Linked DNA regions of Homo sapiens: regions 2, 3 and 4 are each linked to region 1. Evidence: promoter capture Hi-C in 16 types of primary human blood cells and fetal thymus (Javierre and others, 2016). All regions are on one chromosome and are shown on one strand. The core of a region is centred on a gene start or on the middle of the fragment in contact, and the rest is flanking DNA. Distances in the headings are between cores, read along the strand shown.

Region 1 (7,423 bases), core at 2,595-5,094:
CCAAGTAATACAATACTTGTATGGCAAGGAGGGCAGTCCAAGATTAAAATTGTTTGCCAGTAATTGGGAAACTAGATAGTTCACATATGCCCACTTAAGATGATTCTTCTGTTCTTTAGGAAAAATGCTTTTATTCATTTCTGTCCTTCTGAAAGCTTAGAGCATCTCAGGCCCCATGTAGGCAAGGGAAATTTTGTTGGAAATAAGCCAGTACAACTGAATATGGACAACAATGACTATTAATTCTTGAAAAAAATTATGACACTTAAAAAATTTGTCTTTAGCCTTAGATTCCTTTTTTTGAGGTCTTCAAAAGCACAACAATTTTCTTGTGCTTATGAATATCAAGAAAGTTAGAGTGATGAATGTCTCATTCTTGGTATGAAGTATGAATACTATGAATAACCTATTGGTACAATGTATCACTGGTATCTAACAAGGACACATATGCAGACCCTGTGCTCATAGAATCCAGAAATTTTAGGGTAGAAAAGACCCTTTCCATTTATCCTGTCTCATTCCCCTTGATTTACAGATGAGAAATTGAAGCTGAGTCGTTAAGTGACATGCTCAAGGTTACACAGAAAACATGTGGCAGAGTTAGGACTTGAAAATGGGATTCTTGGCTGTTGGTTCAGAATCCCCCTCCATGCAGCATCACTCTGGACATTTGCAGCTTGTTTTCCAGGCCAGCCTTGGTGACAGGGTATTGACTCTGCTCCTGCAACTACCCAACAACAAAACTTCTGTCTTCTGATGCCATGGAGAGGAGTTTATAAACCGGATTAACTTCTTTGTGATTGAGTGAGTTAGTAAGGATTCTCTTTAGCAAGCTTTAGGTGAGGTGTATAGAGAGCTAACATTTATTAAAGACTTATTATAGGCACAGTAGGGTCTGTATAGTGTCATGTTTAGGAACATGAACTTGGGATCTAACTCCAACTTTGTGTCTTTGGCAAGTTTGTTAACCTCTCTTTGCCTTTGTTTTCTGTCTGTAAAATAGAGCTAATAAGACTACCTTCCTTAGAGAGTCAGTTTGAGTATTAAAGAGTTATTCTCTGCAAAGTATGTGGAATTGTGCCGATTACAGGGTTGGCTCTATTATTATTTCTATGTTAAGTGCATGAGATACATTATCTCTGTACCCTTTACAGAACCCCATGAGATAGGTACTCTACTAAAATCCCCATTTCACAATGAGAGAATTTAATCCAGAACCTGTACTCATAACCCTTACCCTCCGATACTAGATGCAACTGAAAATGGTTGAAAACTCAATGAAAAGGGAGAAAACATCTTTCTGAAATATCTGATTACAGAGGAATTTTTTTTTTCAAAATGGAAACACATCCAGCACTTTAGGAGGCCGAGGCGGGCAGATCCCGAGGTCAGGAGATCGAGACCATCCTGGCTAACATGGTGAAACCCCGTCTCTACTAAAAATACAAAAAAAAAAAAAAAATTAGCCGGGTGTAGTGGTGGTCGCCTGTAGTCCCAGCTACATGGGAGGCTGAGGCAGGAGAATGGTGTGAACCCGGGAGGTGGAGCTTGCAGTGAGCCGAGATCGTGCCACTGCACTCCAACCTGGGTGACAGAGCGAGACTCCATCTCAAAAAAAAAAAAAATGTAAACACATTTGAGCCCACAAAAGTTTATTTTAAACAAGGAAAAAGGAAACAAGTCCATAGCTGTGACTCTTGGAGTAACACCACGTAACTCTCAATAGCATTTGAGAATGTGAGGTTATACATCCTATGGATCTGGTTTCGGTGGCCAAATATTGCTCAAGCCCTCTTTTCTAATCTTCAATCTGCTACTTCACTAAGTCTGGGACTTTAAGCAAGTTTCTTAATGAAATCCCTGTTAGTTCCTATGTCTCAACTGTAAAATGACAGAAGGTACCTAAGGAGGCTAGTCTAAAGTTCAAATTATCCTAATTTATGCAAAACTGTTGGAACAGTGCCTAGCACATGGCAAGAGCTTAAAAAGGAACTATTATTTTATTATTAGATCCCAAGGTATTCTATCTTGTTTTAGGCAGTGGATGTGGCCATAGGAAAAGTTTATAAAAGGAATTGAACAGGGTCAATTTCAAGAGCAAAGAAATAGGAGATGGGTACTCAGAGTACAGTAATTAACCAGAACAAGAATTTTTTTGAGCTTTTAAAAAGCATACAATTAAAGAATTGTCCACGTTTCTGCATGTATATGATTTCATTACATTCTCCTTTGCTGTTGATCATTGCTTTTTTTTTGTCTCGAGAAATTTTATGAGGAAAACTCAATACTTTTCATTTATTTATCAACAGTTTCTCCTTTCATATCTGCTGTTTAGTTTCTGGACTAAGATCTGTAAATTTCACATAGAACCCAGATTATTCATGGCTAGGTCTATAGTTATTAGGACTCAGAATACATTTTTACTGGGTCAAGTTCTGGTTTTATAAAAGGAATTAAAGACAGAGCCAGCCAGTTCTGATTCTTTAATTATTCAATTGAAATGAAGACAATTCTGTAAATGATACATGAGAAGGGAAACTAATAAATAGACTCCTTTTATAGATTCCACCTATTGACTTAGTAGGATTGTTCTCTTGACAGTTGACAAAATATTTACCCCTAGTTGTCCTTTTTTTAAAAATAAGAATTAGAACAACTGCAATTATTTTTAAGAACAAGGAACACATAAAAATATTGGAGCTCTGATGAGATCAAAAGTATAAGACTAAAGCAATTAGAGAAAACCTCAGCAATTTGCTCTGTGATTACATTATTTCAAATAAAAATGGGAAAAATTTACTTCTTTATAGTTTCTTTCTACCTCATTTTCATGCTAACTTCACTTTTGACAGAGTGAAGATGATTATTATTTTCAAGAGTACTTTATAGCATAAAGCAAAACATGAAACCGAATCATTTTCACAAAATCACCCAGTACATCCACAGGTATACACTTATATCACCTTTCACAAAATGCTGATCTGGTGAAAATGAATGTTCTTTCCCTACCTATTTTAATTTTAATTGTTTTCTTGTCAGAAAGAAGTACCTTAATTAAAATGTGTTACAAAGCCAAGGGCTCCAGTATTACTTCTGTGTTCTATGTTGTCCCTGTGGTAGCCACATAATCATCAAGTGCCCAGTGGGGCATGGCCTCGTCCTTTTGGGCCCATGTTCATGGAATGGCATACAGTTGAACCTATTATTCACCTTTCTTAGCATTAGCTTTTTTTTTTTTTTTTTTTAAGATGGAGTTTCACTCTTGTCACCCAGGCTGGAGTGCAATGGAGCGATCTCGGCTCACTGCAACCTCCGCCTCCCGAGTTCACGTGATTCTCCTGCCTCAGCCCCCCGAGTAGCTGGGATTACAGGCACCTGCCACTACGCCCAGCTAATTTTTGTATTTTTAGTGGAGATGGGGTTTCACCATGTTAGGCAGGCTGGTCTCGAACTCCTGACCTCAGGTGATTCTCCTGCCTCGGCCTCCCAAAGAGCTGGGTTTACAGGTGTGAGCCACCGCACCCAGCGAGCATTAGCTTTTTTTTTCTTTTTGCAGTCCGTTTTATCTCTTGTACAGCAACCAACTTACTTTTTCATTCCTCTTCTGTTTTGTTTCTTTCTTGTTTCGTTCATGGTTTTATTCTCCCTCATTTTTCAACTGGCCTCAACATAGAGTCAAGAACTTGTCTTCATCCCTCCAATCTAGAGAACAGAACCCACACAGGTAGACCAGCCACAGTTTGTGCCCATTGATTTGGAGGAGAGATAGGCAAGAACGTATCAATGGACTTACTTTGTTCCTTTGGCACCTCTATGTTTCCTCTTTCTCTGCTCCAACCTGTGTGCCAGTATCAGATATTTACCTGGATTTTATAGGTAGATTTTATTTCCGTTCTCCAAACCAATTTGTCTTGTATCTTTATGTAGTTCCAGAGTCCTTTTATGGTTATTTCTCTTTCACCTCAAGAGATGTAAATGCAACTGTAAAGTTTGGAATACGCTGTGCTTTCACATCCTCCTCTAATTTTTACTGGGAAGCCTATTGTGACCCTCCCAAACACTTTAGTATTTATTTTCTCCAGCTTTCTAATGCTCAATCATTGCAATATCATACTGCATTTTTTTATTTTTATTTTTATTTATTTATTTTTTTTACTGGGATTTTATTTTTAAATTTCTAAACACTCAAATTATGTTTATAGTCTCTTTTTTTTTTTTATTGATCATTCTTGGGTGTTTCTCACAGAGGGGGATTTGGCAGGGTCATAGGACAATAGTGAAGGGAAGGTCAGCAGATAAACAAGTGAACAAAGGTCTCTGGCTTTCCTAGGCAGAGGACCCTGCGGCCTTCCGCAGTGTTTTTGTCCCTGGGTACTTGAGATTAGGGAGTGGTGATGACTCTTAACGAGCATGCTGCCTTCAAGCATCTGTTTAACAAAGCACATCTTGCACCGCCCTTAATCCATTGAACCCTGAGTGGACACAGCACATGTTTCAGAGAGCACAGGGTTGGGGGTAAGGTCATAGATCAACAGCATCCCAAGGCAGAAGAATTTTTCTTAGTACAGAACAAAATGAAATCTCCCATGTCTACTTCTTTCTACACAGACACAGCAACAATCTGATTTCTCTATCTTTTCCCCACCTTTCCCCCTTTTCTATTCCACAAAACCGCCATCGTCATCATGGCCCGTTCTCAATGAGCTGTTGGGTACACCTCCCAGACGGGGTGATGGCCAGGCAGAGGGGCTCCTCACTTCCCAGAAGGGGCGGCTGGGCGGAGGCGCCCCCCACCTCCCTCCCGGAGGGGGCGGCTGGCCGGGCGGGGGCTGACCCCCCCACCTCCCTCCCGGACGGGGCGGCTCGCTGGGCGGGGACTGGCCCCCCACCTTCCTCCTGGACGGGGTGGCTGCCAGGCGGAGACGCTCCTCACTTCTCAGACGGGGCGGCTGCTGGGCGGAGGGGCTCCTCACTTCTCAGACAGGGCGGCTGCTGGGCGGAGGGGCTCCTCACTTCTCAGACTGGGCGGCCGGGCAGAGACACTCCTCACCTCCCAGACGGGGTCGCCACTGGGCAGAGGCGCTCCTCACATCCTTGACGGGGTGGCAGGGCAGAGGCGCTCCCCACATCTCAGACGATGGGCGGCTGGGCAGAGACGCTCCTCACTTCTTGGACGGGATGGTGGCCGGGAAGAGGCGCTCCTCACTTCCCAGACTGGGCAGCCAGGCAGAGGGGCTCCTCAAATCCCAGACAATGGGCGGCCAGGCAGAGACGCTCCTCACTTCCCAGACGGGGTGGCGGCCGGGCAGAGGCTGTAATCTCGGCACTTTGGGAGGCCAAGGCAGGCGGCTGGGAGGTGGAGGTTGTAGCTAGCTGAGATCACGCCACTGCACTCCAGCCTGGGCAACATTGAGCACTGAGTGAACGAGACTCCGTATACAATCCCGGCACCTCGGGAGGCTGAGGCTGGTGGATCACTCGCGGTTAGGAGCCGGAGACCAAACCGGCCAACACAGCGAAACCCCATCTCCACCAAAAAAATACGAAAACCAGTCAGGCGTGGCGACTCGGCAGGCTGAGTCAGGAGAATCAGGCAGGGAGGTTGCAGTGAGCCGAGATGGTGGCAGTACAGTCCAGCTTCGGCTCGGCATCAGAGGGAAACCGTGGAAAGAGAGGGAGAGGGAGACCATGGGGAGGGGGAGAGGGAGGGAGAGGGAGAGGGAGAGGGAGAGGGAGAGGGACAGGGAGAGGGACAGGGAGAGGGAGAGGGAGAGCCATACTGCATTTTAATGCCTTTTAAATTAGGTGGACAAAATTGGAAAATGCAGATAATAAAAAAAGGAGAGAAAAAGCACTCAATCTCACCACGCAGACATAATTAATGATAGTATTTGCATTTTGATTTGTAAACTTTTGTGTGCGCATGTATGTATTTTACATAGTAAAATCAAGTTAGGATCATAATGTATATATACTTCATAACCTGCTTTTAAGCTTAATGTCCTATAAATATCTTTTCATGTCGATAAACATATTTATTGTAGTTCTTTTTTTTTTTTTTTTTTGAGATGGAGTCTTGCTCTGTCACCCAGGCTGGAGTGCAGTGGCGCGATCTCGGCTCACTGCAAGCTCTGCCTCCCGGGTTCACACCATTCTCCTGCCTCAGCCTCCGGAGTGGCTGGGACTACAGGCGCCCGCCACCATGCCCGGCTAATATTTTGTATTTTTAGTAGAGACGGGGTTTCACCATGTTAGCCAGGACGGTCTCGATCTCCTGACCTTGTGATATGCCCGCCTAGGCCCCCCAAAGTGCTGGATTACAGGTGTGAGCCACCGCACCTGGCCTATTTATTGTAATTCTTAATAGTGGCGTGCTGTTTTATTTTTTGGAAGTGTCCTGTCACATTCCAGTTATTTATTTTAGGTTGTATCTCAGGTACAAATGAGTACCTTGAGACCAGAGATCCTTGGGGCAGGGGCTGATATCTATCCCCACCTCCAACTCCATGTATGGCACAGTGTCTCACACATGTTAAGGCTCATTAAATATACATTAAAAGAGTTGGTGGCATGAGTGCAGATTCTTTTTTCTTTTTTTGTGTATTATTGAGAGTTTTCTTTCTCTTGTGGGTTTACATTTTTATATATTTTTCTAAAATAGAAAAAAGATGCTGAAGATTTATTAATGTTATGAGCTTAAGAAAATGACAATTTCAGGCAATAATATTGCTGAAAGGCTTGAAGGTATTTAAAGGAAAATGAAGTAAGCATTGTTTTTGAAAGCCCACAGAATCATGATTACTGTCTGGAAAGGTATAACATGATCAACCTTATTCATGTTATCCAGGCAGCAGGAAGAGAAAGTTGAAAATAAATAATGTCAGGCTGGGCACAGTGGCTCACGCCTGTAATCCCAGCACTTTGGGAGGCTGAGGTGGGTGGATCACTTGAGATCAGGAGTTTGAGAGCAGCCTGGCCAACATGGTGAAACCCCATCTCTACTAACATACAAAAATTAGCTGAGTGTGGTGGCACACGCCTGTAATCCCAGCTACTTGGGAGGCTGCAGCAGGAGAATCACTTGAACCTGGGAGGCGGAGGTTGGAGTGAGCCGAGATTGCGCCACTGCACTCCAGCCTGGGTGACACAGCGAGACTCCCTCTCAAAAAAATAAAATAAAATAAAAAATAAAAAAAGAAAAAAGAAATAGTGTCTTTTAAACCTAGAATCCCCTTCCTTCTCCTGTTGGCCTTTCAGACCCATCTCCATGCAGCAAATCTTGGTAAGACTTCTGCACTGTTCTCTCCTGTAATCATGTGGTTAGTGCCATTAACAGTGTGATTCTTCTATGTTGTGTTCTGATTTGTGATTTCTTCAAACATGCTCTAACTTCTAAGGGCAGGAGTTATAGTACCATTTCATA
Region 2 (7,423 bases), core at 2,283-4,782, 120 kb before region 1:
CAGCCAGGAAAGGGAATACACACAATCAGGGAAACTCTTAAGTTACTGTTCTTGGAAATCAACCATTCCTATCATCCAAAATATGAGTTTCTGTTTATATGATCTCTAGCGCAAAACCCAAGGCGCATCTCCTAAGCTAAAAAGAATATAGAAAGATGGTAAAAGATGGAAAGTAAGAGTCATTATTGCCACAACCATGACCCTGGGATCCCCAATTCACTACACTATCTCCATATTCTCCTCCTGTGAATTAGCCAATTTATTTTTACATGAGAGGATGCTGGGTGTGTCAAACAGGTCACTTATTGAAAACACACATTGGAAGAAAAGGTATTGAAAGAAATACGTGAAAAGTGCCACAGAGTATTAATTAAGGCTCTTTCCAACTGGAAGTGGTTTGGAAAACACTGTGACTATGGGGTCGTGGGGAACACCTGACCCTCAGCAGGTGCTAGTTTTATTCCCAGCGCCAGTGCAAATCCAACCAGGGATCCCTACACTCACGCGTGGGCCAACAGAGTGTGATCTGGCAGTCAACTTCCTCAATTTGGGGCCTGGCAGCCCCGGGAGCCCGGTGGGCGCTTCCTCGGTGGCGCCCCTCACCCTGCCTCGCGGGGTTCTAACGTCCAAGAGCGGGGCTGTCCGAGAGACCCGCGCGGACACCTGAGGCGCGGTGGGGCTCCCATGGCTCCGCGGAGCCTGCAGGCTCCCAAGACGAGGGTGGGGTGGCGGCTGACAACAATGCTGCCCTTTGCTGGCTGTGTGGGCATCATCCTCTGTCCCTGGGCCTGGCACACCCAGGAGGAAGAGGCTGTGCTTGATCTGTCGGCGGACTGATCACGTGGTGGCCCCACTGCTAACCCCAGACACACCCCCGCTTAGAAGCAGCATCGTTGTCAGAAGCTCGTTGCCACTTAGAATCCTCTGCAAGATGTGGTGGGTACAGCACTGCACTTAACTCCTTTGGTCCTTAGTTTATTATTTTGTAGAGTGGAGATGATACCCGCTCAGGTACCTCATACGCTTATACTGCAGAACTTTGAAAACCAAAGATGTTTTACAAACACATTCCACTGCGATTACAAACATATTCCACTGCAATAACCGGGTGCATATATGTCCGTCATGCTGAACCTGACAGTTTGAGTTGTATATTCAGTGTTTAACAACTATCCTCAACACATAGTAGGAATAAATGAATGATTGCAAGGTTTTGTCTAATTTATTAAAGTGTTAGCATCAGCTGGCTAATGAGTAATAGATGACAGTCATGTTTGTTGAACTCTTTTATGTTTGCCGTTTTTATGATTAATGAATTTAGCAAATTTCCACTGAGTGCCAGTATGTGCTAGGCATTGTTCTCAATGCTGGGGATACTGTAGTGAACAAAACAGATGAAATTCTAATAATAAGGAAAACAATAATAAGATTCATAAGGAAAATTTATAGCATGTTAAGAATAATGAGAGCTAAGGAGAATAATAAAGTATGAAAGGGAGGTGGCGTCAATGGAAATGTAAATGAGGGGAGTCAGGAAAGTCCTCATTACAAAAAAAACTTGCACACAAATGTTCATAGGAGCATTCTTATATATTCCTAATAGCCAAAAATGAAAACAACCCAAATCCCTATCAACTCATGAATGAACAAACAATATTTGGTATATCCATATAATGTATTATTTGATAATGAAACACAACAAAGTTATAGTTTATGCTACAGCATGAATAAGCCTTGGAATCATTACGGTAAGTGAAAGAAGCAAGTCACAAAAGACGTTCATATAAAATAGCCCTGGTAGGCAAATCCACAGAGACAGAAAGTAGACCAGTGATTTGCTAATACTGAGGTAAGTGGGTGGAGAATAAGAATTACTCCTAATGGGTTTGGGTCCAAAATTAGGTGGTGTTACTTACACAACTCTGTGAATATACTAAAAGCCACTAAACTATATACTTTAAATAGGTAAATTTCAGGCTGGGCACAGTCGCTCACGCCTGTAATCCCAGCACTTTGGGAGGCGGAGGCGGGCAGATCACGAGGTCAGGAGATCAAGACCATCCTGGCTCTACTAAAAATACAAAAAATTAGTCAGGCATGGTGGCGGGTGCCTGTAGTCCCAGCTACTTGGGAGGCTGAGGCAGGAGAATGGTGTGAACCCAGGAGGCATAGCTTTCACTGAGCTGAGATTGCGCCACTGCACTCCAGCCTGGGCAACAGAGCGAGACCCCATCTCAAAAACAAACAAAGAAACAAAAAAACCCACAAATAAATAGGTAAATTTTATAATATGTGAATTATATCTCAATGAAACTGTTACAAAAATGAAAGGCAAGATGTGTGCTTTATCTCTTTACTTATGAAATTTTGAAATAATGAACACCCTCCAAGGGTGACTATGATTCTTTTTCTTTTTTTTTTTATGGGGGAAGGAGAGATTGGCCTTTTAAATTTTTATGTATTTGCTTTGTTGACCAGTGCATGGTCCATATAGTGTCACTGACTTCCTCTCCCTAGAATATAAGCTCCCTGAAGGCAGGATCTTGTCTCTTCTGTTTAAATCTGTTGCCAGAAGCAAGAATTATGCCTGGTGCAAAGTAGATTGTCAAAAAGTAGTTTATGATGAATGTATGAATAAATGGAGGAGCTACCCTATATTTACATTTGCGGCTCATTCTCTCCGGTATCTCAATTGTGATATCCTGCTCTGTGATCAAAAACAAATATCTTTCAGATCTGCCATGTCATGACTCCCTATCTAGAGCTGTTCTTTGTGTTAAACTAGCTCAGGCTCTGAAGCTGGGACCTTGTTCAAGGATGCATGTAAATGGGGTCAAAGATTGGGGCTGCAGTTGCACCTGGTCTCCACTTGCAGGGCAGACTCCCTTGGTGCTGGGTTGATTAGCTAGGAGGAAGGGGCCTCAATTTCTAATTGTACTGTTCAGAGGGGACTTACCTTCTATTTCATTTTCCCAGAGGAGCTGTTATTAAGCAATCTGTCCTTTTGAACGGGGTACTTTTGTCTAGTTTGCACAAAGGCATCTTAGGTGTTAGCAGCCCCTTTTCAGATTATTGGCCCCCAATCTCTACATTTCTTTCAAAATTTCTGGCATCATATCCTTCCTCATTCAGCCTGGATCCCACAGATCCACTAATTATCATCTTATTAAAACCCACAAATGCAAGTTTGCCACCTTGTAATGCCACCTTTTCTGTGTAGGATATTTTAGGGAAACTCTCACAATGGCATGGATAGACACCCAACAAAGATGTCATCTGAAAGTCCAGTATCTTCATCTGTGCTTCTAATTAAATCGTTGAGTATAATTTGGCCAATTTTGCCTCTGATTCCTGGCAACTCTTAATCCAAACAAGTACTTTATTCATTACCACCCCTCACTCCTAAATGACTGCCTTGTCAATTTTTTCAAAGGAAAGACAAAGTCTCTCATGTTCTTTCTTATCCTTCTCATATGGAGGAATGGATAAAGAACATTTACATTAAAGCTAATTTTTCACTATTTTCTTACTTGATCAGAATTAGGTGTCTTTCCTCTATTCTAAAGTGTAATCTGTCCCTGTGCTACTAATCTCATGTCCTTCAAAGGGCTTATAAACCTTAATCCATCAATTATCTCTTTCTCCCCAGTATATTCAAATATTACTCCCTGCTTTGTATTTCTTCTCAACCCATACATTTATGCAAGTCTCTCTCACAGTTGTGGTTTTTAGTTCATGAAGGTAGACCAAGCAGATGCTACTTATTCTTCATATGAACTCCAATTCCAAGGAGCACACTTACAAAAAAAATTCCATTGCCACATTGAAAAATAAGAAGCAACTCTCTTGGTGAACCAGAATCTGTGAATTCCTAAGAGAACAAAAGTATACAGACTAGACTGAAGAAAAACACACAATAATAAAGGACCTGCAACAGAAGACTGTTCTAAATGGTGGAAATTTTTGCACTTCATAAACAAATGGCATATATGTAAATAACACAGATACTCTAATCTTGAATTTGTATCCCCCCAAATTACTTAAGGGGCAAGATGGGGGGAACCCAGTTGCCCATTTCTGGGACAGCGAATGTATAAATGTGCGGGGTGCATGGCACAGACTTTAGGCAGCATTTAAAATCAACTGATAGAGGTACTGATAGCCACACGGATAGATCTTTAAAACTTACTGTTAGGAGGAGCAAAGTTTGTGCATGTAATTTATGGGTGTGTATGAACTTCATGGATTCCAGATACATTCCTACAATAGAATGCCATACATTTTTGGGGAGATACTGACAAATAAAATATGCATGTTTTATAAAGTGGAACAATTGCTCATGGAGGGAGGGAAGGGGGAGTGGGGTATGGAGATCAAAGAAAATTTAAAAAATAGGAAGCATCCTTATAGACACAACAAAACATTTCTAAGATAATTTGCTTAAAATTTGAGTGTGATAAGCCACAGTGTAAAATTATAGGCAAAAATATGTAACGTTTTGGGAGCTGGACTTTCTAGACAAACTAAATCCAGTAGCTATTAATTCATGTAGTCTCAATAACATAAAGATATGGCTAATTGTAATATACCTTCTTCACTGTAGGTAAGCTATGCATGTTTTAATAATATCCAGTGAGAAAGAAATAATTAGTAGTATTTAGAGCTAATAAGCAAAGAAGCCTTCACAAGCAATGGGATTATTTATCATTTATGCGAAGTCTCCTTCTCACAATGAAATAATTTTCTCGAGTTAGCATTTATTACATCATTATCAATTTTAGGTATAGATTCTACTCTAGTAACATGTGCCCATTCATAGAACTTCTCTTGTATGGAAGAATCCCTTAACTCAGGCTGACCATATTCAAACTGAGATAAATTCATGCACAGTTCCTCATGTAGACAAAAATAACCATATTCATCAATTTTAATTTTTATTAATGAAATAGGGGGAAGAGAATACTGAGATGGATTTAATGAAATTACATTTTCCAAGAAGCCTCTTGAACAGAATGAAGTTCTTCATTTGCCACTAAACTTTCCTCCTTGACTGAGCTCACTGATGGTTTCTTTAATATGCAGAGAAAGGATCTCCTTCTGCCATGAACCTGAGGTAAGTTAGATATCAGTAAATTGATCATTAGCACACTCTAAAATAAAGAACTATAGAATTTGGGTTAGAATTTTGGAAATAATTCTAATAGAAGTATTCTCCTCATTGAGATTTTTATTTTATTTATTTTTTTAGAGATGAGGTCTCTGTCACCCAGCCTGGAATGCAGTGGCACTATCATTGCTCACTGTAACTCTGAATTCCTGGGCACAAGCCCTCCTTCCACCTTCCCCTCCTAAGTAGCTAAGGACTGCAGGGATGTGCCACCACTCCTGGGTAATTTTTTCAACTTTATGCATTTTATTTTATTTTATTTTACTTTACTTTACTATTTTATTTTATTTTATTTTATTTTATTTTATTTTATTTTATTTTATTTTATTTTATATTTTTGTAGAGATGGGGTCTCATTGTGTTCCCCAGGCTGGTCTCAAAATCCTGAGCTCAAGCAATTCCCCTGCTTTAGCCTCTCAAAGTGCTGGAATTATGGGTGTGAACCACCCCACCAGGCGAGATTTTTAAATTAAACCATGTGCTTTTGATACTTTTTAGTTTTTTTCTTTGTCCTCTCTCCCTTTCTCCCTGGTTTCCATCCTCCCTTCTTTTTTGTTTCTATAGATTGAAAGCCAAAGACAATGCTATATGAAAAGACAGTCCCCAAGACAATGATTGATCATAAAGGGCATATTGTTTTCTACTCAAACTTGATTACATTATTAAGTATAGCATTGAATAGCTGTCAGTTTAAATTCTATTTAGTTGGAGTAGAAATCTATATGTTCTTATATACCCAATCCATGTTTGTTCTCTTTTCACTTTATTCAGAGAAGAATTAAGAATAAGACCTCTGTGAGTGTGTGTGTGTGTGTGTGTGTGTGTGTGTGTGTGTGTTTGGTGTGTTTTGTTTACTTTGCTTTTAGTTAGAGCCATATTTTTTTGAGATTTCGAGTTTGAATACCTTTAGATGGAACTTCAGCTCCCCATTTTAATACCTTACTTAAAGAAGATTCATTGAAAGGCAATCAGTGATCCAGATAACAGGTTTTCAATACCCTAATTCATCTGGAATTATAGCTAATTCACATGTTTTGAAAAGCAAGTGACTTTTGCAGTACAAATGAAGATGTAGCCTCTGAGTGTCAAGAGAAAGTGGGAAATACAAGAAAAGAAATCTATATGATAAATTCCTCTCCCTCCTAATTCATTTTATCAGTTTAATTCAAAATAGAGATTCCTAAACAAAGCTATTTACAAATTAAGATGGTAAACTTAACAAGGCATATTTATGGAATGATAAGTAAATTGGTGAGGCTGGAGCACAGCATTTATGGGCGTGAGTGGTAGGAAATGAAGTCAAGAAAGTAGATTGGGCTAAATTATTACAGAAATGAATGTTGTGCTAGAATATCAGGCTTTCGTGTGGTAAGTGTTTCCTGTTTAAACTTTCATTTGGGGAGATGAAGAAACAGAGGACAGAATTGAAATACATTTAGGGGATCATGTAAAAAGGATTGTCAAATTGTTTCAATTTGAGAGTATTTCTCAGCTCCCTCGCCAGGGCAGGCAGGTAGATAGATGGTGGTGCTCTTAAATGGAAAAGACAAGGTAATGACTTTGTGGGTGAGATGATTAGTTCAGTTTTAGATATGTTTTATTTGAGGTGCTTTGGAATCCTTCGAATCAAACTCTCTAGAGAGAAGTTGGCAATATGAGCCTAGAGCTCAGTAGAAAGGTCTAGGGTGGAGATTTAACATTTGGATTATTATAAATTTATAGATGGTATACATCTACCAAGCTGTAGGTATATATGGTGTTGCCTATACAAAAACTATAGAGGTACAGTTGGAAAAGTCAAGGGACAGAACAGCAACCTGAAGAGATTAAGTAAGACCCAGGTAAGAAGGCAGGTCAAAGGGTCAAACAGATGAGATTAGAAAGTGGTAAAATGGGGAGGAAGCTTAAATTTCCTAAACCTTTCTACACATGTGGTCTAGGATATATGGACAACTCACTTTCTTCTTTGTGTTAACTGTGGTCTCCTTCTCAGTTGTTTTTATGATCTCATAGATCTCTAAGCCTCGGCCTGTTGAGTGGGTACTGGGGAAAAAGGGCAGGCATATCTTTCACTGAAGTTCTCTGATTTAGTGAGATTGAAGTTCTCTGATTTAGTGAGGTCAAATGGAGGTTAAGTTTTCCTTTAGACGTGAAGTAGTTGATATGGAGAAAGTAGGAAAATAGCTTTATTGAAAAAAGGCTTTACCATCTTTTTCAACTTCTCCATTACTCCCAAATCTTGGTTTCTGAAGACAC
Region 3 (7,423 bases), core at 3,630-6,129, 100 kb before region 1:
CACAGGAAGGGGAACATCACACTCTGGGGACTGTTGCGGGGTGGGGGGAGTGGGGAGGGATAGCATTAGGAGATATACCTAATGCTAAATGACGACTTAATGGGTGCAGCACACCAGCATGGCACATGTGTACATATGTAACTAACCTGCACATTGTGCACATGTACCCTAAAACTTAAAGTATAATAATAATAATTAAAAAAAACAACAAAAAATGACAGATGCTGATAAGGTTTTAGAGAAAAAGTAACACTTATACACTGTGGGTGGGAGTGTAAATTAGTTCAATTAGTGTGGAAGACAGTGTGGTGATTCCTCAAAGACATAAGAACAGAACTACAGTTTGACCCAGCAGTCCCATTACTGGAAATATATCCAAGGGAATATAAATCATTCTGTCATACAGACACATGCATGTGTATGTTCACTGCAGCATGATTCACAATAACAAAGCATGGAATCCACCTAAATGTCCGTCAATGGTAGACTGGATAAATAAAATGTGGTACATATACACCATGGAATACTATGCAGCAATAAAAAGGAGAAGATCATTTTCTTTGCAGGAACATGGAAGGAGCTGGAGGCCATTATCCTTAGCAAACTAATGCAGGAACAGAAAACCAAATACCGCCTGTTCTCACTTGTAAATGGGAGCTAAATGATGAGAACACATGAACACATAGAGGGAAACAACACACTGGAGCCTATTGGAGGGTGAGGGTGAGAGAAGGGAGAGGATGAGAAAAAATAACTGATGGGTACTAGGCTTAATGCCTGGGTGATGAAATAATCTGTAAAACAAACCCCCATGACACAGGTTTACCTGTATAACAAACCTGCACATGTACCCCTGAACTTAAAATAAAAGTTAAATTTAAAAAGATATGTATATTTCCTTCTATCTAATATGAATTAGATAATAACTACAAAAGCTTAAACTACTGAATTCTGAAACCAGTTTCACTGGATAAAGGATGTGTTTATTGAAGTTGCTGTTGTATGTTGTATAGTGATCTCAACTAATTTATTCTTTTGTAACAAATCTCCCTTAAAGAAAGACAAATTAAAATAAAATGTTTATTATTATGTAAACATACAACTGTATTGCTTAGTAAATTTTGGCGTGTTGACATAATCCAGTCTTTAAAATGAAGTATATTTGGTAAATATTTCATTTTCTCAACTATACAGTAGGCAATAGCTATGTCAAAATAATCTGTTTTTATTTAGAAAAGAGCCACCTTGTTGAGGAAATGCATGAATAAGACCCCACGGAGCAGATGTTCTTCTCTGGAGCATGAAGTTTTTCTGGGAAAAACTTATCTGAATAAAACAAGCAGAAACACTTGTTTTGATTCCTGCTCTCGGGGTGGTATTGGACATATTTAAAGTACACAATTTGATAAATCATTAATACAAAAAGATATACAATAAGTGCACTGTAAGAAGAGAGTGAAAATATGGAGGAACTGGAATACTCAGCCTGTGAGTGGAAATGTAATATGCTACAACCACTTTGGAAAACAGGTTAGCAGTTTCTTGAAAAGTTAAACATGCATATATCCTATGACTCAGGTATTTACTAAAGAGAAATGAGGGCATACGTCTGTACAAAGACTTGTAAATGTTCATAGTAGCTTTATTTGTAAAAGCTCAAAACTGGAAACAATGCAAGTTCCATCAATAGGTGAATGGATAAATGAATTGTGATATATCCATAAAATTGAATATCACTTAGAAATAAAAAAGGGATTGATAATTTATATACATGGATGAATCTCAGGATAATTATGCTGAATGAAATAAGTGAAACAAGAAAGCATATGTACTGTATTATTCCATGTGTATAAAACTCTAGAGAATGCAAATTAATCTGTAGTGATAAAAAGCAGATAAGTAGATGCCTGGGGGAGGCAGGGTTTTGAGGAGGGATAAGCAAGAGGGATGACAAAGGGGCAGAGAAAACTGTTGGAGGTAACATATGCACTGTCTTATTGTATTAATGGCTTACCAAATTGTGTACTTTAAATATGTACAGCTTATTGATTATTATATGTCAATTATGCCTCAATAAAGCTATTAAAAATTAAGAAAGAAGAGCATGAAGGGGCACTATGAGAGCCAGATGCAATAAAAAAGTGTGAGGCATGGGATAAGCTACCCTCTATGACCCTGCCATCTACTATGAAGTTTTGTTTGTTTTTTAGTAATTTTTGAAAATAGAGACCATATAAACATTTTTTTTTTTTTTTGAGACAGAGCCTCACTCTGTCACCTGGGCTGGAGTGCAGTAATGGGATCTTGGCTCACTGCAACCTCCACCTCCCAGGTTCAAGCAATTCTCATGCCTCAGCTTCCCAAGTAGCTGGGATTACAGGCACATGCCATCACGCCCGGTTAATTTTTGTATTTTTAGTAGAGACAGGGTTTCACTATGCTGGCCAGGCTGGTCTTGATCTCCTGACCTCAAGTGATCTGCCCATCTTGGTCTCCCAAAGTGCTGGGATTACAGGCATGAGCCACCGTGCCCAGTGAGATGGTATAAAGAATATTTTAAGCAACACTTTTATACTTTTATTGCAGCCAGAGAAAATAATCAATTATTAACCTTTATTTAAAAAAACCCAGGCTTTATTTCTAAAATAACTAAAACATTTCAGATAAAAGTTTTCTTGCCTAGTTCAATTTCAGGTTTTGGCTATTGTGAATAAACTCCTATAAACATATAGGCAAGTTTTTGTTTTCTGGTTTTGACATACGTTTTTATTTCTCAGAGGTAAGTGCCTAGCAATGAATTGCTGGGTCATATGGCAGGTATATATTTAAATTTTGAATGAATGACCACATATTTTTACAAGGTCATGGTGTCATTTTACACTTCCAATGACAATATGAAGGGCTTGTTTTCTTCACATACTTGTTGACATGTGGTGTTAAGTATGCTATTTCTTCCCTTTTTGGCTTCTATTTTCAGGAAATATCTTTCTTTTTTTTTCTCAGTTTTTAAAATTCTTTTTGTTTTTAATTATACTTTAAGTTCTAGGGTACATGTGCACAACGTGCAGGTTTGTTACATATGTATACATGTGCCATGTTGGTGTGCTGCACCCATTAACTCATCATTTACATTAGATATATCTCCTAATGCTTTCCTTCCCCCCTCCCCTCACCCCATGACAGGCTCTGGTGTGTGATGTTCCCCTTCCTGTGTCCAAGTGTTCTCATTGTTCATTTCCCACCTATGAGTGAGAACATGAGGTGTTTGTTTTTTTGGTCTTGCGATAGTTTGCTGAGAATGATGGTTTCCAGCTTCATCCATGTCCCTACAAAGGACATAAACTCATCCTTTTTTATGGCTGCATAGTATTCCATGGTGTATATGTGCCACATTTTCTTAATCCAGTCTATCATTGATGGACATTTGGGTTGGTTCCAAGTCTTTGCTATTGTGAATAGTGCCGCAATAAACATACGTGTGCATGTGTCTTTATAGCAGCATGATTTATAATCCTTTGGGTATATACCCAGTAATGGGATGGCTGGGTCAAATGGTATTTCTAGTTCTAGATCCTTGAGGAATCGCCACACTGTCTTCCACAATGGTTGAACTAGTTTACAGTCCCACTAACAGTGTAAAAGTGTTCCTATTTCTCCACATCCTCTCCAGCACCTGTTGTTTCCTGACTTTTTAATGATTGCCATTCTAACTGGTGTGAGATGGTATCTCGTTGTGGTTTTGATTTGCATTTCTCTGATGGCCAGTGATGATGAGCATTTTTGCATGTGTCTGTTGGCTGCATAAATGTCTTCTTTTGAGAAGTGTCTGTTCATATCCTTCGCCCACTTTTTGAAATATCTTTCTTCACCCCTTCACTTTCAGCCTATATGTGTCCTTAAAGGTGAAGCGAGTGTCTTGTAGGCAGCATATAGTTGCATTTTGTTTTTCAGTCCATTTAGTTACTTAATTTTTTTATTGGAGAATTTAATCAATTTACATTCCAGGTAATTATTAATATATAAGAACTCATTGCTGTTTTGTGGTTTATTTTCTTTTTAAACCATCCTTTGTTTCTTTCCTCCTCTCTTACTGACTTTTGTGATTTGATGATTTTCTATGGTGGTATGATTTGATTTCTTGGTTTTTATATTTTGTGCAAGTATTATAAGTTTTTGTATTGTGGTTACCATGAGGCACAAATAAATTATTTTGTAGTCGTACCAGGCTTTTAAAGCTGATAACAACTTAACTTTCAATACAAAATGTCTACATTTTACTTTTTCCCCTATTTGTTATTTGGATGTCAAAAAAGTATATCTTTTGTAATTTGTATCCCTTAGTTTATTGTAGTTATAGTTGTTTTAATAGTTTTGTCTTTTGAGTTACTGGGTGCAGCACACCAGCATGGCACATGTATACATATGTAACTAACCTGCACATTGTGCACATGTACCCTAAAATTTAAAGTATAATAATAATAAAATAAAATAAAAAAAAGTTTTGTCTTTTAACACTCATATTAGAGATAAAATTGCTTTATGTACTACCATTACAGTAGTAGAATATTCTGAATATGACCGTATTATTTATACCATCAAGTTTTATACTTTTATATGTTTTTTGTTATGAATTTGTGTCTTTTTTTGGTTTCAGCTTAAATAGCTCCCTTTCATGATTCCTGTAACGCAGGTGTAGTGATGATGAGCCCCCTTAGCTTTTTTTTTTTTTTTTTTTTTGATCTGGGAAAATTTTAATTTTTCCCTTATTTCCTTAGAATAGCTTTGCAAGGACTGGGCACGGTGGCTCATGCCTGTAATCCCAGCACTTTGGGAGGCTGAGGTGGGTGGATCGCCTGAGATCAGGAGTTTGAGACCAGACTGGCCAACATGGTGAAACCCATCTCTACTAAAAATACAAAAATTAGCCAGGCGTGATGGCAGGTGCCTGTAATCCCAGCTGCTCAGGAGGCTGAGGCAGGAGAATGGCTTGAACCTGGGAGGTGGAGGTTGCAGTGAGCTGAGATCACGCCATTGCACTCCAGCCTGGGTGACAAAAGCGAGACTTTGTGTCAAAAAAAAAAAAAAGAAAAGAAAGAAAAGAAAAAAGAAAAAAAGTCAAAAAAAGAATAGCTTTGCAAGGTAAAACATTCTTGGTTGACTTTTTTGTTGTTGTTGTTGTTGTTGTTTTTACAGCACTTGAAGTATATTATTCACTCTCTCCTGGCCTGCATGATATCTGCTGAGAAGTCTGCCGATAGCTGTATTGGAACCCTCTTGAATATGATATGTTTCTTATCTCTTGCTACTTTCAGAATTCTTTGTCTTTGATTTTTGTTAGTTTGAACATGATATGTCTCGGTTAACCCTTCTTTGGGTTTAATTTGGTTGAAGACTTCTGAGCTTCCTGTATCTGCATGTTGCCATCTTTTTCCAGATTTGAAAAGTTTTCAGCCATTATTTTCTTAAATATGCTTGCTCTTGCTTTCTCTCTTTTCCTTCTATAAATTCAATTATGAAAATGTTATTTGAAATGGTCAGGGTCAGAGACTATATTCCACAGATATGTGTAGTCATAGGATTCCCTCCCCGCCTGGGTCTGGACAGAACCTCCGACTGGGTTCTGAAGATTGATGGGGCCTCTGCTCAACTGCTAGTGTCAGGCAGAGCCAGATGCTTTGCTTCACAGATATGCTCATATGTTGGCTTGCCTCCCAGCCTGATAAATCCTTATGCAGGTCTCTGAGGCTGGGTTACTGCTTAGCTAATCATGTTGAGCTGGGCCAGAAGGTACACTCTGTAGTAATGTACAAATGCAGACCTGCTTCTCAGCCTGGGAGAGCCTTATGCAGAGCTCTGATGCTGGGTGTCAAAGCTAGACAAAGACTTGAGCCTGGCAAATCTCTCAACTGTGCTTCCTGCAGAGAGATGCTTTTGGCTAATCTCTCTGGTCAGGTGCCTCTGCTGACCAGAATACAGAGCCACAGCCAAGATTCACATGCTGGTTGCTGTGGGCCCCAACTTTCTATTTCTAGCTGACACCACATAGTCTACCCCTGCTGATACTTCTAATGTTCCCCATTTGGCAGGTGGGCCTCCTGCAACACACCCAAGAATGCTGGGGAAGCTGGATGTCCACCACGGGCGCCCTCTTTATTCCCTTGTAGAAATCTTGGGCCTAGGGAAATCCTTTCTGTGTGGTGGGTGCTATGCCATTGTTGTGGAGAGGTGACATAGTCAAAGTGAAATCATTTCTCTTACCTTTCTAATGTGGCTTGTATTTTCATCACAGTGTGATCTGAGAGCATAAATTGTACAATATTTATTTTTAAAAATCGACTAGCATGTATTTTATGACTCAGAACATGGTCTATCTTAGGGGCTGTTACAAGTGTCCTTGAGAAAAATGTATTATTTTATTGTATGAGTATTGCATTGGTGTCAATCATATCCAGATGATTGACAGTGCTGTTGAGTTCAACTCTGTATATACTGATTTTCTGCTTGCAGAATGTCTTTATTAATCACAGGAGTTAAAGTCTTCAACTCTAATAGTGGATCCATATATGTTTTCTTGTAGTTCTATCAGCTATTGCCTCATGTATTTTATCACTTTGCTGTTGGCCACATACATTGACCCCTTTATCATTATGCAATGCCTCTCTTTATTCCTGATAATTTTCCTTGCTCTGATATCTGCTCTGTCTGAAGTTAATATAGTTACTCCTACTTTCTTTCAATTAGCGTTCACATGTACTACACTTGATCTTAGCCTAAAAGCCGAGAAGCGATAATTAGTGTTAACATGTGATATCTTTTTCCATACTTTTACTTTCAATCTATATGTGTCTTTATATTTAGAGCAGGTTTCCTGTAGACAACATATTGTTGAATATTGTTTTTTGTTTCACTCTTCAAAAATCTGTCTTTTGATAGGTGCATTTAGATCACTGGTGTTTATAGTGATTATTGATAGAGGTGGATTAATATCTGTCATATATTTATTACTGGTCTCTATTCATTTCCCTTGTCCATGATTGTTTTTTTCAGATTATGCTGTTTTTCTACCTTTTTGTTTGGCTTAAATGAACATTTTATGTGATTCTATTTTCTCTTCTTTATTAGCAAATCAAGTATTTAAGAAAACTTCTTAAAGTGGTTACCACAGTGTTTTCAATATACATTTACAACTAATCCAACTCTATTTGTCAAATAACAATATACTACTTCACAGATAGTACAAGTATCTTATATTAACAAAGTAGTCCTAATTCCTTCCTCTCATCTTTTGTATCATTGCTTTCTTTCATTACATCTATTCATAGGGTATGATCATTGAATACATTGCTGCTATCATCATTTTGAGCAAACTGTTAGGTTAAATATAAGAAAAATAAAAGTTTTAATTTTTTACCTTCACTTTTTC
Region 4 (7,423 bases), core at 1,561-4,060, 100 kb after region 1:
ATCTCCAATTCTTGAGCTTCTGACTTTCATGTTTCCCCATTTGCTGCCGCTACTCATTTTTTTGTGCTGTTGTTATGTTTCTCATAATATTTTGGTTATTAGATAACTTCAGTTTGTAGATGGTGGTAGTGGTAGGGTTCTTTGATAGGGAGGCATCTTATAAGTTGGGTTTACGGACATCTCCTTAGATAGTAGTTTTAGATTTGATTCTGCTAGAACCTTAGAAGTTTCACATATCTCGTAACAGTTTTTAACTTAATGCTTTTATTTGAGGTCCCCCTATTTTATATGTAATTATGAATTCAGATGGCACACTTGCACAAAGCTTAGTGAGCTGACGGAAGGTTTTCTTGAAACTTCTTGGGATGTTGGGCAGAATTTTCCTTATATTATTTTCACAAATTGAGTAAATATTCAGTATCAGCTTTCAACATTTTTGCAGGGTACTCCATATGAGCTTTATGGCCCTGTCCAATGCCAAATCTTGTCATGGATGTTAAAACTGTGTGATCCTAGCCTCTAATACCAATATTCCTATTCAGACTTCCTTGGTATTTTGGCCTCAGCTCTTGTTTGATGATTTGGCTTTAGGATCCTTCTTAGCTTCTGGAACCTAAGTCATCTTTCTTCTTAGATTTGTTTTTCCTTCTGCCCTCCCTTCCTTTCTTCTTCCAACTTTGGCTATATATTTTTTAATTTTTAAAATTTCATTACTTTTGTTCAGGTAATTGCTGTGTTAATTAACAAAGAGTAGGCCTTTGGAGTCTGCTTAGTCTGCTATGTTGCAACTTCTCTCATATTGTAGGAAGTTCTTTTGGACTCCAGTTGTCTCAGAATGGGAAGCAGTTTGGGGTAATGAAATTCATTTTCTTTAAATTAAACCCCCAATATGCCTCTCCCACCCCCATTGCTTTACCACATGTCTGTCCTACACCAGGATGACACTATCTACTGGGTTTCCTCCAGACAGGTCTCTGTGCTCTTCCACTTCCTCAAGCTCCTGAACCAAAGGGGTTGCTTTTGACAATCTCTGGGTCACATGAGCAGACCCACAGGAGTGCAAAAGCTTGCACACATTTTCTGAGATTTGTGAGATAGATGGATCCAAGGGAATGAGAGATACTACCTTGGGTTCCCTGTGCTCCTACTAGGAGGATTCATAGAGGAAGAAGTCTTTCTTCTTAAAAGGCCACTGGTTTATGGTTTTAACACCATGATACTATATTTATAGGATTGAATAAGCAAGGCTTGTCACCACGAACAGGTAGTGATCATCAAGTTTGGGAGAAAGGTGCCAAGAAAATGCTGCCCAGAGAGGTTGACATTTTTTCTAGAAGTCAAATCCGTTGTCTCCCTTCCCACCACTCTCTGTCAGCCCTGTTAGACCAAAGTACAAAATAACTATGTATTTGGACTTAAGGTTCAAGTTTTGTGCCTAACATAATGTAGCATACAGGCTTGCATTTGAAGATTAACTTAAACACCGTACAGCCTCTGCTAGTCCTCAATTCACTGATGATCAGAAGACAAGCATCTTTAAGGGGTAGGGGCATCCAACCCCTGGAAAAGAACCCAAAAGAATCCCAAATTAAAATATAATTCAAATGAAGAATATTTCTGCCTGTGATGAGTAGGAAGAATATTTCTGCCTGTGATGAGTACAACAAAGGTTGTACTTTAAGAGTTAAACCCATTAAGGTTGGAACGTTTGTGATTAAGAAAGACCAGTGGAGGGATAGACTCCCTACTGTCCTTCATGATTTCCTCTTTTGACTTTCTATAGTACATCCCCCACACCATGCAGTCAGCAGACAGGCCTCTTCCAACCACAAGTTTTTGTTTATTTCTGTCTGTCTCCAGGCATTCGGACCGACCAACCAGAGACTGCCAGAAAAGCAGAGAGTATGCAAAGGGGAGACACAGAGATTTCACATGACAGGATATTCAGTCTGAAACTACTCACTGTTAAACTGACACTGGTCAGGAGACAATCTTTGATTTCATATATTGGATAATAGTACTCCGAATAAGGCAATGAGGATAGATAATCCATTTCTGAGCCACAATGTTGAGAGGCAGTCCTCAGGGCTACCATGCTGTCAGCAAGGAGGAAGAGGCCTGCTCCTGCAGTAACAGAACTCACTGCATTTGAGGTCAAGCTGCTCAGGTCCTGGAAGAGAAACTCTGCATTGGGTTCTCATCACAGAATCAGCACGTGACACTATTAGTCCTCTGTCCATTGTACTGCAATGGTGCTTCCTTGGGTCTGTTTCCTTCCTGTTTCCTTGTGTGGGCACAAACTGTGTTTTATTCATCTTTGTATCTCTTGTCGCTATTTAGTTAATCATGTGATATAATTAGTAAATGCTTATTGAATAAGAAAATGCATGGATAATTCCTCCTTAGGGAGAGGGGTTCTGGCCCATTGACTCTCTATAGCACTCAAGATAGAGACAGTGCTGCTCAGGTCACTGCCAACATCTCCCATGACTTCCTCAATAGCCTTAGAATCATTCTGTTGCCTTCAGGGCTTCTAGAATATGGACTTCGGTCCCCTCTGGTAAACTGAATCCATGACTTTGATTTACATAAAAGAGCAGCTTCAGAGAAAAGGTGGAGGCAAACTGGAAAAGTTGGAAAACCTATCTATAGGTCTGTGGGAACATAAAATAGGCTTTCAATTGACAAGCAATTGATCTTGAATTGACAATCAATATTTGTTCAATATGACAAGCATATGCCTTCGATTTTCCTAAGTGACAGGGCATGAGGCAGAGGCACATGGGCTTAGACCCTGTGCTTCTCTCTCCACCCATTCACAAACAGAAATATTATCAGACTGTAGCCACTTTTCCCACAAACCTTGGAGGGAGAAAGGGAGGAAGCAGCTATAAAGCCTTTGCTTCTCTCCGTAGCAGCCTTTCTCTCTTCCCTGCCACACACCCATAGAGGTGATTTAGGGAAAAGCCACATCCTGACTCAAGAAGATACAGGGCCTGGCTAGGCACAGATGAGGACACATGGATGGTGCATGAGGCTGGTATATGCTCCTGATGATTGAAGCTGCAGTCTAGAACCCAGGATTATGGAAGAGGGTTTTGAAGAGTTCACAGCATTCATTGGTTGGAGTCATAGTTCTGGACTTAGAAACTGAAATCCTCTCCTCCTATCCCAGCTCTGTCACTGACCCATCTGTCACTGATCCATCTGTGTGCTTGAGCAAGTCCTTCTTACTCTGGGCTTCAGTTATCTCTTTTATAAAATGTGGAAGATGAATCTTCTGATCTCAGAAGTGGCTTCCCAAATGCACTGAATACACAGAAAGGGAAATCTATGCTTGGACTTGACAACAATGTGGGCTCCACAAGTGGGACAAAGAACAACATGTGGGCTCCATTGCTCATATGGTAGCTTTGGGCAAAGATACTGCCCACTGGGACTACTTTTCCTTCAAAGACTCAGCACATGAATCCATATAGCTACAGAGCTGGAGTAGAAAAGGGCAGGACAACCATCCTTCCCAACATACATTGTCTTCCAGTGATGCTTAAACAGAGAGGAGCATGTGCTGGAAACCTCGCACAGAGCCTGGCACATCAGTGTCTTTGCTAGTGAATCGTCATGCTATGGGAGAATCCTGTCTCCTAAAATGTAGAAGAGGAGTTGGGAAATGGTGTGGTGAATGTGGTTCTCATAGGCCTGATCCACCTGTAGGTAGGTATTCCAACTTCTTCAGTTTGCTTTTGTCTTTTCTCTGAAGCCGCTCTTTTAAGTAAGAAGACATACATTGGGTTTCTAGGGAGGGACCAAAGGTCATATTCTAGATGCACTTAGGGCAATATAATAATTCTAAAGTTGTTGAGGAAGCCAGGGGTATGTTGGCAGTGGCATGAGTGGTATTGTCTTTGAGTTTGGTGCTGCAATCAGTGCTGACATTGCAGACATCCCCCTCACCCCTACTCCATCACCCTCATTTTCTCCCACCTTACTTTAAACTGATTTTTTTTCTCAAACATCCAATTATCAAGCATGAGTCTTTGGATGGAAATAGTCTCCTCCAGCCTGGATGAAGACGGCAACACCCTCTTCTGACAGGGGAATGAATGCCTCCCCACCTGATATTTGACTGAAAGAAGTTTATTTCAGTTGCTTAAATAGTAGAACTTTGAAAATATATCATGGACTTCTTTCAACTTGTTACCACGGTCACAGAGTAGGGTAAACCAGTTATTCTGCTTTGCCTGGGGAGTAAGGGGTTTCCCAGGATATAGGCTTTCTGGGCTAAAACTGAGACAGTCCTGGGAAAACCAAACAATTGGTCACCCTGACGCTGAAGGGCTAGAATTTGTGTGAAGTCCCAACTCTATGAATGGGGACATTTGGCATCAAAAAGAACCCCAAGAGGCAGGTTTTATAGAAAAAAGGATCTGTAGGCTCTCTCTGGGATGGGTGGCTACCTTATTCAAGGTCAAGGTTACAAGCTATAAAGAGTCCATGGTACATTTAAAAATGTACACTTTTTAAATAACTGAGGTAAACCTCCTCCAAGCTTGGAATATAATCCAGGAGCAACATTGTGTAGACGAAAGAGCACTGGTCTAGAAGGCAAGAAATTTGGGCTCTACTCTTGGTTCTACCAATGGGACAGCCAGGAAAACCTGGGCTTCCTAGCCTGTTCTAAGCTTTTTCTCTCTAAATTGTAAAATAGGGATTTTTAAACTAGAAGAATTAACTCTGACGTTCCTTCAATTCCAACCAGCTGAGATTTGATGGTCCTTATACTTACAAAGGGCTTAGTTGATTGTTTTCCAGAGATAATTGAGAGGGATCCAGTAATGCCAAACTGCCCAGAAGAGAGAGAAATGATCAGTTCAGTTGTCTTGTGGAAATGTGCCCACCATGTCACTGTCAATCACTCAATCAAAAAGTGATGTTGGAAAACTTTTAGGGAGAGAACACTGCAGAAATCTTGTGGATCTATATTGCTAGATAGGCCTAATTCCCACCTGATATAAGAATGTCTATATTGACTTTGAATGACATGCAGATGCACAGAGGGGTTGGATTTGTTTTAGTGGAAATCACTAGGAACTGAGGAGGCCTGGAGAAAAGGTGTACCTGGGAAGGAGAAGAGTGTTACTAAATTACAGGGTTGAAAGAGAGGAGGTTGAGATGGACCAATGACTTGAATGGACAGAGAGATTGGAACAGCCAACAGAAGCACTCAGGAAAGAGGCTCTGATGGGACAAGGTGCAGAAACACATGGACTGGAAGTTATTGGTGTATGTTGCTTGAGTCAGAATGGGAGTCGAGGAAAGTGGGAAGAGCAGGCTCAGACGTGAAGTCTTTATCATAAAGCCCCAGAAATCAGTATTTAATCTCAGTGGTATTAAAGATCCAGCTGGCAGAGGAAGGGTATTCTGAGAAGCTGAAAAGTTGCTTAAGTGTGTGGCTTGGATATTGAATAATCACAGGCAAAGAGGGTCCAGTATGAGCTAACGCTAGCTTCTCTAAGGAGATGTGGGGCCCACAACCACTGGTTACAGGAGAAGTCAAGGACAAATTGTGCTCTGGGGCAGGACCAGGGCCTCCTTATGTGACTGCACAGTTTGTGTTCACACAGGGACTGTATCCACACAGAAGTGGTACCTTAGTATAGTTCATTTGCCCAGAATATTTGATTTTTATCCTTTGTACCAAATACTACGTGGAGAAGAAATAACCCTTTGTGGGAAGTGTGAGTCTGCCCTGGCCACTCTCTGAAAAATGGATCTACTGGGCCCTTTTTCATGAGCCATTAGGTGGAAGGCAGCAAAGAGAGTTTCTCTAGTGCTCAGGGTTACCTCTGGACACACAGCAAGCATGTCCCTGCCTCCCATGAATCTTACCCTTGTTAATCCAAATCTCTGCAAACCTGTGGCATCAACCAGTGGTGCTCGTTTTATTGTTTAAAAATGGCCTTCTCACTCTCTACCTGAAAAGTTGATTATTCTTACAATGGAGGGAATCCAATGGCCTCATCAAAGCCTCAAAGAGGGATATGGAAAATCATCCACTTTTCTAGAGGTATGCTGTAATGCCAGGTAAGAAATTCTGTGCTGGTATACCCATTGTATTACCATTCCCTCTTGCCCCCTGCTCTGCAGGAAGACAGATTAAGTCTCTCTGCTGCTCTTCTTGAATAGGGGAAATGTGACGTGGGGCAATGATAGAAGGAAAGTCGAGGCCTTGCCGCCTTTTGCCTCCTGGCCTCTTGGAGTCTGAGTCACTCCACGACTATGCACCTGGTTAGCATTTATAAAGCATGTCCCCTCTTAGAGTCCCCATTCTACTCACACACAGAGCTCCTAAAAATGGGTACCCAGACATCAAAGTGGTGGAAATTGCTGGATTGAAGTGGGAGGGGTAGGGAGCAAAAACCAAGATGGCCCCCAGACTTGAAATCAACAGGCAACACAGGATCTGGACAGTCTACAAGAGAGAAGACAGGAAATCTAGACTGCACTTCAAACAGATAAAAGTGATTATTTGAATGCACACGGTAAAGTATAAAGAGTATAAAATACATTATAATTTGTTATATTAAAGAGGAAAAATGTTACAAGGAGCCAATCGATATGCTTCTAGAGAAAGTCATGTATAGCTAACCTCTTCTTTTCTGATAGGATTATTAAACCAGCAAATCGGAAAGTGATCATACACACATTTTAACTTTTTTTGAAAAAGATACTTGACAGTTTTTAAATTTATTTTCTTGAAAAGTAGATAAAAAAGTTGTCCAGTGAGGTGGAAATAGAGAGCAAACTTTTCACAGGAGTGTTAATGAAGAGATTTTTCAGTTGAAATTAGATAGAGCAGGTCATCTCTTCTGCTGTAATTCATCTTATTTTGTTCATCATTGGATTTTAATAATAATTATTTCGCAAGTGGAAGAACTGAAGTTTAGCTGTTAGCTTGCTCTAAAGCCCATGCTTTTGCTCATAGTTTAATGCATGTGCAATTGAAAGATGATGCAAACATAGGAGAAATAAAAAAAGAAGTCAACCATTCACATCATCAACAGTTATTGAATACCACAACAGGTATGTTGTGTGCCAGGCACGAGGGAATGAAGCAAATGAAAATCACTACCATTGGAGAGCTTATATGTGTACTATGTCTTGTCTGTAAAGGTACAGACAAGTTCCATGCAAGGCAGAATAGAGTTAAGAGCAAAGTAGTAGGACATGAGGCTTGTGAAGTACTGGAGGCATGGTACAAACTATGTAGGGATTTTTAGGCTATGTTTTACCAACTTTGCTTTTCATTTTGAGCAAAAAAGGAATCCCACTGGATAATTTTGAGCCAGGAGAATACATGATCTAACTTTCATTTTTAAAAGAGTACCCTACCTGCTGTACTAAGAATAGATTGTAAAGAAAC

The links. The method cuts DNA at HindIII sites, captures the fragments that hold promoters and counts their contacts. A CHiCAGO score of 5 or more calls a contact.
Region 2: a fragment that was not itself captured here is called in contact with the fragment with the promoter of MS4A12 in region 1 in 4 of 17 cell types (total B cells, naive B cells, M2 macrophages and 1 more); the score reaches 14.9 in total B cells.
Region 3: a fragment that was not itself captured here is called in contact with the fragment with the promoter of MS4A12 in region 1 in 2 of 17 cell types (naive B cells and total B cells); the score reaches 5.9 in naive B cells.
Region 4: a fragment that was not itself captured here is called in contact with the fragment with the promoter of MS4A12 in region 1 in 1 of 17 cell types (total B cells); the score reaches 5.7 in total B cells.

What each region holds. Positions count from the first base shown.
Region 1 is chr11:60,489,199-60,496,621 of GRCh38, reverse strand. It overlaps MS4A12 (membrane spanning 4-domains A12), which reads right to left and starts at 3,844. Exons shown (of 7, transcript NM_017716.3): 1 at 3,794-3,844. RefSeq lists enhancers at 4,121-4,858, 4,859-5,598. The HindIII fragment of the contact is 5,161 bases long and covers 836-5,996 here.
Region 2 is chr11:60,608,934-60,616,356 of GRCh38, reverse strand. LOC105369321 (a long non-coding RNA gene) reads left to right here. Exons shown (of 6, transcript XR_001748240.2): 5 at 4,950-5,113. It overlaps LINC00301 (long intergenic non-protein coding RNA 301), which reads right to left and starts at 606. Exons shown (of 7, transcript NR_026946.1): 1 at 505-606. The HindIII fragment of the contact is 7,080 bases long and covers 1-7,072 here.
Region 3 is chr11:60,593,751-60,601,173 of GRCh38, reverse strand. It overlaps the pseudogene MS4A19P. Among named protein-coding and RNA genes, the nearest start is that of LINC00301, 18 kb to the left of the region's middle. The HindIII fragment of the contact is 7,883 bases long and covers 938-7,423 here.
Region 4 is chr11:60,384,137-60,391,559 of GRCh38, reverse strand. MS4A7 (membrane spanning 4-domains A7) reads right to left here. Exons shown (of 7, transcript NM_021201.5): 3 at 6,338-6,472; 4 at 4,787-4,843; 5 at 1,964-2,170. Among named protein-coding and RNA genes, the nearest start is that of MS4A14, 8.6 kb to the left of the region's middle. RefSeq lists an enhancer at 1,994-2,063. The HindIII fragment of the contact is 3,483 bases long and covers 1,069-4,551 here.